Linked DNA regions of Homo sapiens: region 1 is linked to region 2. The links are contacts of gene promoters, found by promoter capture Hi-C in human tissues and cell types (Jung and others, 2019). All regions are on one chromosome and are shown on one strand. Each heading gives the region's core, a stretch centred on a gene start or on the middle of the fragment in contact. The rest is flanking DNA. Distances are from core to core; before and after follow the strand shown. Region 1 overlaps LOC112268136 (a long non-coding RNA gene). Region 2 holds the start of CLEC14A (C-type lectin domain containing 14A).

What was found. Contacts are between HindIII fragments. The study calls those that stand out against the background at their distance.
Region 1: a contact is called between a fragment that was not itself captured here and the fragment with the promoter of CLEC14A in region 2, in 1 of the 25 tissues and cell types used here (neural progenitor cells).

The regions. Positions count from the first base shown.
Region 1 is chr14:38,300,237-38,305,875 of GRCh38, forward strand. All of the region lies in intron 4 of LOC112268136 (a long non-coding RNA gene), which reads left to right. Among named protein-coding and RNA genes, the nearest start is that of CLEC14A, 47 kb to the left of the region's middle. The HindIII fragment of the contact is 5,182 bases long and covers 1-4,012 here.
Region 2 is chr14:38,253,679-38,259,176 of GRCh38, forward strand. It overlaps CLEC14A (C-type lectin domain containing 14A), which reads right to left and starts at 2,415. Exons shown (of 1, transcript NM_175060.3): 1 at 322-2,415. The coding sequence starts at 2,344. The coding sequence ends at 872. It overlaps LOC112268136 (a long non-coding RNA gene), which reads left to right and starts at 2,367. Exons shown (of 5, transcript NR_169588.1): 1 at 2,367-2,767. RefSeq lists an enhancer at 1,597-2,224. The HindIII fragment of the contact is 7,223 bases long and covers 1-5,498 here.

The sequences.
Region 1 (5,639 bases), core at 172-2,671, 46 kb after region 2:
GAAAAAAGTAGAACACATATCCAAGAACTGTAAAACAACTACAAAAGATGTAATATCCATGTAATGGGAAAACCAGAAGGAAAAGAAATAAAAGGAAACAGAAGAAATATTTGAAGCAATAATGACTGAGAATTTCCTCCTGAAATGACACCAAACTACAGATCTAGGAAGCTCAGAGAACATCAGGCAGAATAAATGCCCAAAACACTACACATAGGAATATTATATTCAAACTACAAAAAAATCAAAGATAGTGAAAAAATCCTAAGAGAAGTTAGAAGAATACGAAACCTTAGTTATAGAAGAGCAAAGATAAGAATTATATCTGACTGCTCCTTAAAAACCATGCAAATAGGAAGAAAGTGGAGTAAAATATTTAAGATTTTGAGAGAAAATAAGCACCAACCTAGAATTCTAAGGTTTGCAAAATTATTCTTCAAAAGTAAAGGGAAAAGTCCACCTCAGAGAGAAGGAATATGTTGCCAGTAAAGCTGTCTTGCAAGAAATCTTAAAATAAGTTTTCTAAAAGAAGGAAACTGATATTGTTCAAAAACTTAGAACTGTATAAGGAAAGGAAAAACATCAGACAATGAATAAGTAGAGGCAAAACTAAAATACTTTTCTCATTCTTAATTGATGTAATGGATAACAGTTTGTTCTAAATAATAGCAATAATGCATTTGATAATTACATTGTATATATAAGTGAAATGAATGACATCAATGATGTAAAAGACATGAGGAGGAATTAGGGATATTTTGTTTTAATAAAGTACTTGCACTGCCTGTGAAGTGGTATAGTGTTATTTGACAGCAGACTTTTGTTAGCTGTAAAGGTGTGTTGCAAACTCTAGGACAACCGCTAAAAAAAAGTAACAAAAGAAATATTATTGATGTGCTAAGAAAGAAGAGAAAATGGAATCATATAAAATGTTCAGTTTAAATCACAAAAGGCAGAAGAAGAGTAGAACATAAAAAAAGGGGGAAAAGGACAAAGACAATAACTAGAAAATGATAGCAAATATGGTAGATATTAATCCAGCTATATCAATAATAGTAGTCTAAATACACTAATCAAGACAGGAGAGAGAGCCAAGATGGCTGACTAGACACAGCCAGAAGGAACAACTCTTACCAAAAGACCAGGACATCAGGACGACTGGCACACTTTGAGCAGATCTTCAGAGGGAAAACACTGAGAGTGGACCAAGGGAGGACACAGACATTGGACTGATGGGAGAGGAAGCTGGGAACGCTGGGGCTGCAAAGCACTGGGACCTACTGCAGGCCTCCAGTGACTCCTGGGGAAGGAGTGAGTTGAACAGGTGAGGAGTGGCTCACTCTCACCACAGACCTCTGGAATCCTAGCTGCAGAAAGCCCACCATCCACATGGACACTGGAGCTGGCAGGGAGAGCTGTTTAGAGAGATGGCAGGGGCAGGACTCCAGCCTGTGTGGAACCTATAGGGTTTGGTGCAGGAAGGTCTGCAATGGAGCATGGCCAAGAATGCTCAACCCCCAACGCTCTCCAAGCTCCTCTAGGTGTCCCTAGCCTTTGAGTGACTGTTGAACCTGGACAGAGCAAGAACATCTTGTCTATGAAATGGGGTTCCCTGTTTCCTAGCCTCTCCTGGACAACCAGCCTACCCACCCCCAATTACAGCACTGCCTTGGATGCACAACCAGGGTGATTCTCAGGTGCCCTCATCATAGCTCCTTTGCTGGTACCATCCCTGACCATTGGAGAGCTCCAGCTTCTCTGACTCATACACGTCCTGCCCCCACTACAGCCTCCCCTTGGGTCTTTGCCACATGCACTCACCCATGGTCTTCTCCCACTGCTTTGCAAGTGCATTCATGTAACCAAACCTCACTATCACATCCCCAATGGTATGCATGTGTGTGCACACCTCACCACTTCACCAACCATCAGAGCAAGTTCATCCTGCCACCCCACCCACCCTTGCTGGCAGTCCACCCCTACTGAGGTGTGGGCAGCCCACTGCACTGCTTCCACTGCTGCTGCTGGAGTAAGTGCTTGCACAGGTGCTGGAAACTCACCCCTGCTAGCACCCTGCCCAACTGACACCCTACCCCCTGCCAGTGCCCCAGAGTTAGAGCACACAGCTGAACAGCGCTGAGTTGAGCCTTGGTCTCCCGAAATCTTCCAGAATTGAAGATAGTCTACTAAACCCACCTGATATCACAGTCAAACTCTCAAGGGCACTAAAAATAAAAGTTAAAAAAAAAATCCAAAGGACAGCAACTTCAAAGATAAAAGGACCATCAGCCCACACAGATCAGAAAGGTCAGCACAAGAACTCTGGCAACTCAAAAAGCTAGGGTGTTTTCTTGAGTCCAAATGATTTCACTAGCTCCCCAGCAATAGTTCTTAACCAGGCCAAAATGATAGACATAGAATTTAGAATATGGATAGAAACAAAGATCATCAAGATTCAGGAGAAAGTTGAAACTGAATCCAAGAAATCTAAGGAATAAATAAAACAATATTTGAAGATATTGTCCACAAAAATTTCCCCAACCTCAAGAGAGCAGCCAATGTTCAAATTCAGGAAATGCAGAGAACCCCTCCAAGATGCTATACAAGGTGACCATCCCCAAGAAACAAAGCCCTCAGATTCTCCAATGTTCATATGAAAGAATAAATATTAAAGACAACTAGAGAGAAAGGGCAAGTCACCTACACAGGGAACTCCATCAGGCTAACAGCAGACCTTCCAGCAGAAAACTTACAAGTGAGTAGAGATTGGGGTCCATATTCAGCACTCTTAAAGAAAACAAACTCCAATGAAGAATTTCATATCTGGCCAAACTAAGCTTCATAAGCAAAGAAGAAATAAGATCCTTTTCAGGCAAGCAAATGCTAGGGTAATGTGTTACCACAAGATCTGCCTTACAAGAGGTCATTAAGGGAGTGCTAAATATGGAAACAAAAAACCATCACTAGCAACCACAAAAACACACTTAAGTACATAGATCATTGACAATATGAAGCAACTACACAATTAAGTCTACATCGTAACCAGTAACACCACAATAACAGGATCAAATCCACATGTATCAATATTAACCTTCAATGTAAATGGGCTAAGTGCCCTAATTAAAAGGCACAGAGTGACAAGTTCGATAAAGAAGCAAGACCCAACTGTATGCTGTCTTCAAGAGATTAATCTCACATTCAATGACACTCATAGGGTTAAAGTAAAGAAATGGAAAAAAATCTACCAAGCAAACAGACAACAACAAAAATCAGGGGTTGCTATTCTAATTTCAGACAAAACAAGACTTTAAACCAACAATGATCAAAAAGATAAGAGCATTACAGAATGGCAAAGGGTTCAACTCAACAGGAACTCTTAACTATCCTAAATATATATACACCCAACACAGGAGCATCCAGATTTATAAAACAAGTTCTTAGAGATTTAAAAGAGCCTTAGATAACCACATGATAATAGTGGGAGACTTCAACACCCCCATGGCAGTATTAGATAGATCACTGAGGCAGAGAAACAACAAAGACATTTGGGACCTAAACTTGACACTTGACCAAATGGACCTAAAAGACATCTACAGAACTCTCCAACCAAAACCAACAGAATATATATTATTCTCATCTGCACATGGCACATACTGTAAAATCAACCACACAATTGGCCATAAAACTATTTTCTGCAAATTAAAAAAAAATGAAATTATACCAACAACACTCTTAGATCACAGTGTAATAAAAATAGAAACCAATGCTAAGAATATCACCCAAAGCCATACAATAACATGGAAATTAAACAACCTGTTCCTGAATGACTTCTGGGTAAATAATGAAATTAAGGCAGAAAGCAAGAAATTCTCTGAAACTAATGAGAACAAAGATACAACATGCCAGAATCTGTGGGACACAGCTAAAGTAGTGTTAAGAGGAAAGTTTATAGCATTAAATGCCCACATCAAAAAAGTAGAAAGATCTCAAATTCACAGCCTAACACCACACCTTGCCTTACAAGAGGTCTTTAAGGGAGTGTTAAATATGAAAAAAAACCATCACTAGCAACCACAAAAACACACTTAAGTACATAGATCATTGAAGAAATCAAGAAAAACAAGAGCAAACTAACCCCAAAGCTAGCAGAAGACAAAAAATAACAAAAATCAGAACTTAACTAAATGAAATTAAGATGTGAAAAGCCATACAAAAGATCAATGAAACCATAAGTTGGTTATTGAAAGAAAAAATTACATTTATAGACTGCTAGCTAGACTAAAAAGAAAAAAGAGAGAAGACCCAAATAAATGCAATCAGAAATGAAAAAGGCGACATTACTACTGACCCCACAAAAATACAAGAAACCTCAGAAGCTGTTACAAACACCTCTATACACAGAAACTAGAAAACCTACAAGAAATTGATAAATTCCTAGAAATATACAGCCTTCCAAGATTGAACCAAGAAGAAATTGAAACCTGAACACACCAATAATGAGTTCCAAGATCGAATCAGTAATAAAAATCCTACCAACCAGAAAAAGCCCAGGATCTGACAGTTTCCAGCCAAATTCTACCAGACATATAAAGAAGAGCTGCCACAGTTTCTGCTGAAACTATTCCCAAAAATTGAGGTAGAGAGCCTCCTTCTCAACTCATCCTATGAGGCCAGCATTATTCTGACACCCAATAGTGGCAGAGACACAACAAAGAAAGAAATCTTCAAGCCAATATCCCTAATGAACATAGATGCAAAAATCCTCAATATGAAAATCAATAACTGTGATTCATCACATAAACAGAAAGAAAAGCAAAAACCATATGATCATCTCAATTGATGAACAAAAGTCTTTAATAAAATTCAACATCTCTTCATGTTAAAAAGCCTCAACATACAAGAACTGAAGGAATATAGCTCAAAATAAGAGCCATCTATAACAAACCTACAGCCAACATCATACTGAATGGGAAAAAGCTGAAAGCATTTCCCTTGATGACCAGAACAAGACAAGGATGCCCACTCTCACCACTCCTATTTAACATAACACTGGAAGTTCTAGCCAGAGCAATCAGCCAAGAGAAAGAAATAAAAGGCATCCAAATAGGAAGAGAGGAAGTCCAACTCTCTCTGTTTGCAGACTATATGATTTTTTATCTAGAAAATCCCATACACTCTGCCCAAAAGCTTCTAGAGCTGATACACAACTTCAGTAAAGTTTCAGCATACAAAATCAATGTACAAACATCAGTAGCATTTCTATAGATCAACAACATCCAAGCTGAGTGCCAAATCAAGAAAGCAATTCCATTCACAATAGCCATAAAAGTAAATACCTTAGAATATAGCTAACCAGGGAGTTGAACAATCTCTGCAACGAGAATTACAAAACACTGCTGAATGAAATCAGGCATGAAACAAACAAATGGAAAAACATTCCATGCTCATGGATAGGAAGCAAGATGTTGTTAAAATGGCCATACTGCCCAAAGCAATTTGTAGATTCAATGCTATTCCTATCAAACTTCCAATGACATTCTTCACGGAAATAGAAAAAAACTATTCTAAAATTCACGTGGAACCAAAAAAGATCCTGAATAGCCAAATCGATGCTAAGTAAAAATAACAATGCTTAAGGC
Region 2 (5,498 bases), core at 1,165-3,664:
TCACCATAATTGAAGATGAGGATGAGCATCTTGATGTTCAGGAGAGGGCTATTTGCTTGGGGAGGTCATTACGCTGGAAAGCACAAACACTGGAAAGGGAAAACGCAAATTATGTGTTTTCCTTGGGCATGGACATAAAGTAAACACTTGAACTGGTGGTCAACTGTAATTTTCTTCCAGAGCCAGCAATTCTGGCAACACTACACTTTCGATTTATAGCAAAGCACACAAGTAGCAGTGACTTTGAAAAGAAAGGATAAAAGAATCAATGAAAAAGTTACTAGTTCTTAAAGATCTGTGTCTCATTCGAGGAACTTAAGGACCTCTCCCTCAATCTAAAAGCAGAATGCACTCTTGCTGCTTACTCCCAGCATGCCCTCAGCTGTTCCTAATTACTCCTGGAGGAAGGCAATGATATTTGAGTCTGGGTTATCAACAATCCTTTAATTTTTTATTTTTATTTTTTTCCCTGGGATTTCGAACCAATATACTCCTAGCCTGAACAACATAGAACATTTCCTTTCCATTTTGGTAGAAATTATTTTTTAATGTAAATTATATTGTGTTCTATTTGTTTCCAATGTCTTGAAAAGTTCAATCACTTCTCCAAATTCTCCGAATAAACATAAGAAAATATCTCTCCCCAGCACTACCCGGTCCCCCAGTATCACCATCCTAAAGGCACTTCCACTTCCTCTATCATCAGGGAAGGAGTGTGCAGTTCTGATTTAGCTCCTCAGTGGAGTAAAGGGAATTTAGAGGAAGGGGGATTTCTGCAGAAATTGTCAGTTACACAAGTAAGTTCCTCTTGGTTCCCCGTTTCATCAAAAGTGAAAAACTGTTCACAGGAGTGCCCATGTCCCCTGTTTCCCTATGCATCACTAGAGCCAAGAGGGGACTCCGCCAGCAAGGCACCCTCTGCTCTGTCCCGCAGATCACAGTCCCCGACTTTCACCCCATTGTTTGTGCAATGTGCAGAACTGGAGCCCAAAGCAGCGGGCTCAGGATCACTCTCCAGGCCCGGCGGGCCCATAGACTCCTTCCTTGGCTGGGAAGAGGGGCTTTCGTGAAAGCAGAGCTTGACAAGCCCCAGTACTGTCATGGTCAAGATCACCAACACTACTACTGCTGTGCTCACAAATATGAAGACCACGGCAGAGGAGGAGTCGAAAGCCTGAGGAGTGGCAGAGGAAGTCGTAGAATTAAACTTGGAAATCACGCTCCCTGATGGGGTGATAGTGGCCTTTGACTCGGCTTGAAGGGACATTTGAAGGGTAGACATCGTGCTCTGTGATCCCCATCGAGGAATCTCAGGAATAGATGTTACTGAATTGTCTTGTTCAGGGACAAGTGGTGTCTCTCCCAGCTTCTCGTCGACCCTGATTGGCCATGTTCTCTGCGGCACGGGGCTGGTTGCAGTGGCCGGCGGGCGCCTGGTGGGCACCCCGGTCCCCCCAAGGGTCGGCTGTCCTTCCCCACTGGTCACACAAGAGCGGCCGTCCTTCCCCAGCTCGAAGCCCGTAGCACATTCGCAGGCAAAGCCTCCCAAGTCGTCTAGGCAGTTAGGGAGCTCTGCGCATTTGCCAGCACGGAGGTACCTCCCGGGGCAGGGACACAACACATCGCCCGAGAGTTTGTCCCAGCGAGCGCCGATTTCGTCCGCGATGCAAGTAACTGAGATCGGGAGCTGTCCCCGGCAGAGCGCACTCACCTCGGTCCCAGGTGGACTGAAGTCCAGAGCGGCGCTGTGCAGCTGGAAGGGCGCGCGATAGCTCAAGTTAGAGGCGGCCCCGGGGCGCGGCGCAGGACACAAGACCTCAAACTGGTACTTGCACAGGTAGCCGTTGGCGCGCAGGTGGCATCGCATCTCCTTCCAGCCTGCGGGCTCGACCCCACCGGTGGCCTGGAGTACCGCGCATCTCCGCGCGGTGCAGGAGCGTTGGGGCTCCTCCACCCACTGCAGCGTGTCGCTTTCGAGACCGCCGGGGTCGGAGGACAGCCAGGAGAAACCCCGCAAAGGCTCGTTCTCCAGGGTGCAGTGGGAACGCCTGCGCTCCAGTGCGACCCAGAACAGCAGGTCTTTGGAGCCCCCTCCGGGCCCTGGGCCTGCCCGCAGGAGCGCGAGCACAGCGCGCAGCTCGGCGCCCGCACGCACGGTGCTGAGCGCCCCACCTCGCAGGATGCAGGCCTCCTCGGCCGCCTGCCGCTTCATGGTAGCGTGGTGCAGGCTGTAGCAGGCCCCCGAGGCCGAGCAGCCAGCACGGTCGGCAGTGGGGTGTTCGCCGCCGCCCGGCCCGGGCCAGAGCGCCTGCCAGAGGAGGCACAGGGCGAACGCCGGCCTCATTCTCTGAGGCCCCGCACGCAGAGCTGCTCCCAACTTGGATCTGTCCCGCTCGAGGACGCAGAGCTGTGTCTGGAGCGCGGTCACCGCCCTCTACAGCTGGCTTCCCCAACCCGGTTCCCCCTCCCTTCCCCTCCGCCCTCGCTCCCGACGGACCCCCCAACTGCCAAGAATCCCCCCGCGGGCCCAGCGGCCAACAGTTTCCCTTAGGCCGCGACAGGAAATGTGTGCGGAGCGCTGCCAGGCCCGGTGCAGCCCTGAGTTATTCTGGGGTCAGGAACACAGCTGGCGCCGGGTACAGGGGACGCAGTCGACTAGAAGGTCAAACACCCTGCTTAGAGCAAGAGGAGAAATTCGCCACTGGGATGAAGTGTGTGGTTTTTCTCCGTTCAGGGAGTTTCATCAGGACCGCAGAACCCATAACACGTAAGCGAACATAGGCAGGAAGGACTTGAGAAAGGAACTGGCTTATGATTATAAGACCACGCCCGTCTATTGTGTTTCTGTCCGGAGCTGTGGAGTTAGCGTCAGAATAATTCGTAGACGGCTCCAGTGTTTGGGGGGCCTGTGCCTGTGGGGGAAAAATATGTTGTGAAACAACTTAGCAACTGCTTTTGCCACCAGAGGCAGCACTATTTAACCGCATATCTCTCTATGGGTCTTTGCTTCTCTATTATGTCAAGAGATTTCAGGAGTCCTAACTACTAAAGAATTTGGAGTTGTTTGGGTATTTTAAATGGGAAATTCTGCTTCTTCCATCAGCACTTGCTTTAGAAATTTATTTTTCACTTCCACGTGTTTCTCTTTGAGTTAGACCATATTGATTCATTACAGAAAGGAAATGTATTTCTAGGACTAAATGAAAAATAATGACCATAGATCTTAACAGTTAGGTTGTTAGCTTTCCTTGCCACTGTATTGGTTCAAAAATTCTTCAAGTTTATAGGTTATACATAAATGAGTTCGTGGCCTTATAAATATTCGAGAACAACTGCCCTATGTGTGATTTTAGCCTTGAACTATTTTAGTATCATTTTCTCCTATGATTGAGTGGCAGCATTTATAATAGTAAGTTGTAAACATCTCCTTTAAGGAAAATTAGAGTTCCTTAAGAAATTAAAATGTTTATTCCATTATAATGAATATTGTATACTGTCAAAAAATATCTTGTAATTTGAAAGATGGGTGAGCCAATTTCTTTAGAATTCCAGTGGGTGTTTTGTTTTAATATAAACATTTCAACTCAGTGGGAAGTGGCAAGGAATTAAAGATGAATAAAGAAGTAAAGGTTAAAAACTGTACTGTTATGAAAGGATTTCTTGTTAGCAACTTAGACAATTCAGTATCAGTTTAGAAAACGTACATTCTATCTTGGTTCATAATGGCCAAATACGTTGCCATCAGAAATACATAGAGAGTTTCAGCTAAGCCCTCTTAGAGATGTCTGATGCTTTTAAATATCTTTAATCAGAATGAAAGTTGCCATTCCATGGATAATGCATATAAGCTCACTTTGTTTTACTGCATTCAGGTTGATGAGGGGTGGGAGGGAAGGTTTCAGGATCACATCTGTATGCTTCCATCTTATTTTTACCATAACTCTCATTCTTCTTTCCTCCTGGAAATTCCATGTATCTTAACAAACAACAGTAAGCCTATGAGTCATCATCATACTTACCTTGCTTTTGCTGAGTATGGAGCTTTGCACTAGGATTTCTCTCCTGCCCTATTTCCCAATTTAAAGAACATTCCTTAGTCCTTCCTTCAGATGTCTGAGAATCACCTTAAACGTGGCTTTGCGTTTAAATTAGGTAACTTAGTGTCTTATAAGAAAGAAACATGAAAATCCAGAAATCAAATTGAATGGTTTTTAAAAAATACTTAGTCACTTGGGCCAGCTCTCTATAGACCATTGCAATCTTATGACTGTGTTTGTAAATGTGTCCATGTAGTGCAATATTTTTAATAAAATCTTTTTCAAACTTAAGTAGTCAATGGAAATTTCTTAGATAGCTTTAAAAATCGTTTGGGATGAGATGAGGTGTCTACAGTAAGAAAGAATGAATAGCTGGAAAGCTTAAGTAAATACATGATCTCACTCCCTGACATTCTGTCTAGGGGAGTGGGATTATAGCAGAGAACACATTGGCCATAACGACTATATGAGAGTACTGACCATGACCATGACCATATCATGGAATGACACAAGAGTTAGAAAAAATTAGCTCAAAGTAGGACGTAAATAGTTTTGTAATTAGTTTGAAATAGACAGTTTATCTGACCAAATTAGAAATGGAGGAAAGTTTCTATTTTTTAATAATATTTATTAAGATAATAATATAGAACCATTTTACCCCCACTGGATTCCAAATGCCTAAAAATCTTATAATACCAAATGTGAATCTATTGGCTCTTTTACATGTTACAGATTAGAGCAACCACTTTGGAAAAATTTGACACTTTTTTTCACTAAAATTGAATATTTGCAAACTCTAGCACTTCCATGATAAGGTATAAAACTAAGAGAAATTTTTGCACATGTACAACAGAAGATATGTAAAAAATGTTTATAGTGACACTATTCATATTAACAAAACGTTGAATCAATCAAAATATCCAAAAACAGTATAAAAATAAACTGTAGTATATTCACTAATTTAATATTATATAGGAGTAAAAATTAGTACAATATAGTGGCAAGTAACAATATGAATTTATTTTAGCAATACAATGTTAATGGACAGAAGTTCCAAAAACGATACAGAGTCTGACATTTTTATACAATTAAAAGAACAGTACTAGATATATGTTTGTGTATTCTTTAGAAAAATAGTTACAATAAAATGAGACAAAAGAAACAATAAACATAAGATTCTTAGTGATGCGCCTTTTGGGTGAGAGGAAAGAGAAGGATGGAATGTTAGGGGAACTAGCAGGCTTGATATGGGCTGTTGATAGAGTCCTAGCTTTTGTTTTGTGCAGTGGCTTTGTGTCACTACCCAAATAATGGAATCTTTATTCCATTATTAAAAATAAATAATTAGTAATGAACAAATAAATCAAAATGGCTATATCTGGATAAATAAGTGAATGGACATGAAGCAGGAATTAAAATTAATTTAATTCTGAGTGGTTGAGTTTCAAAATGAAAAGTAAA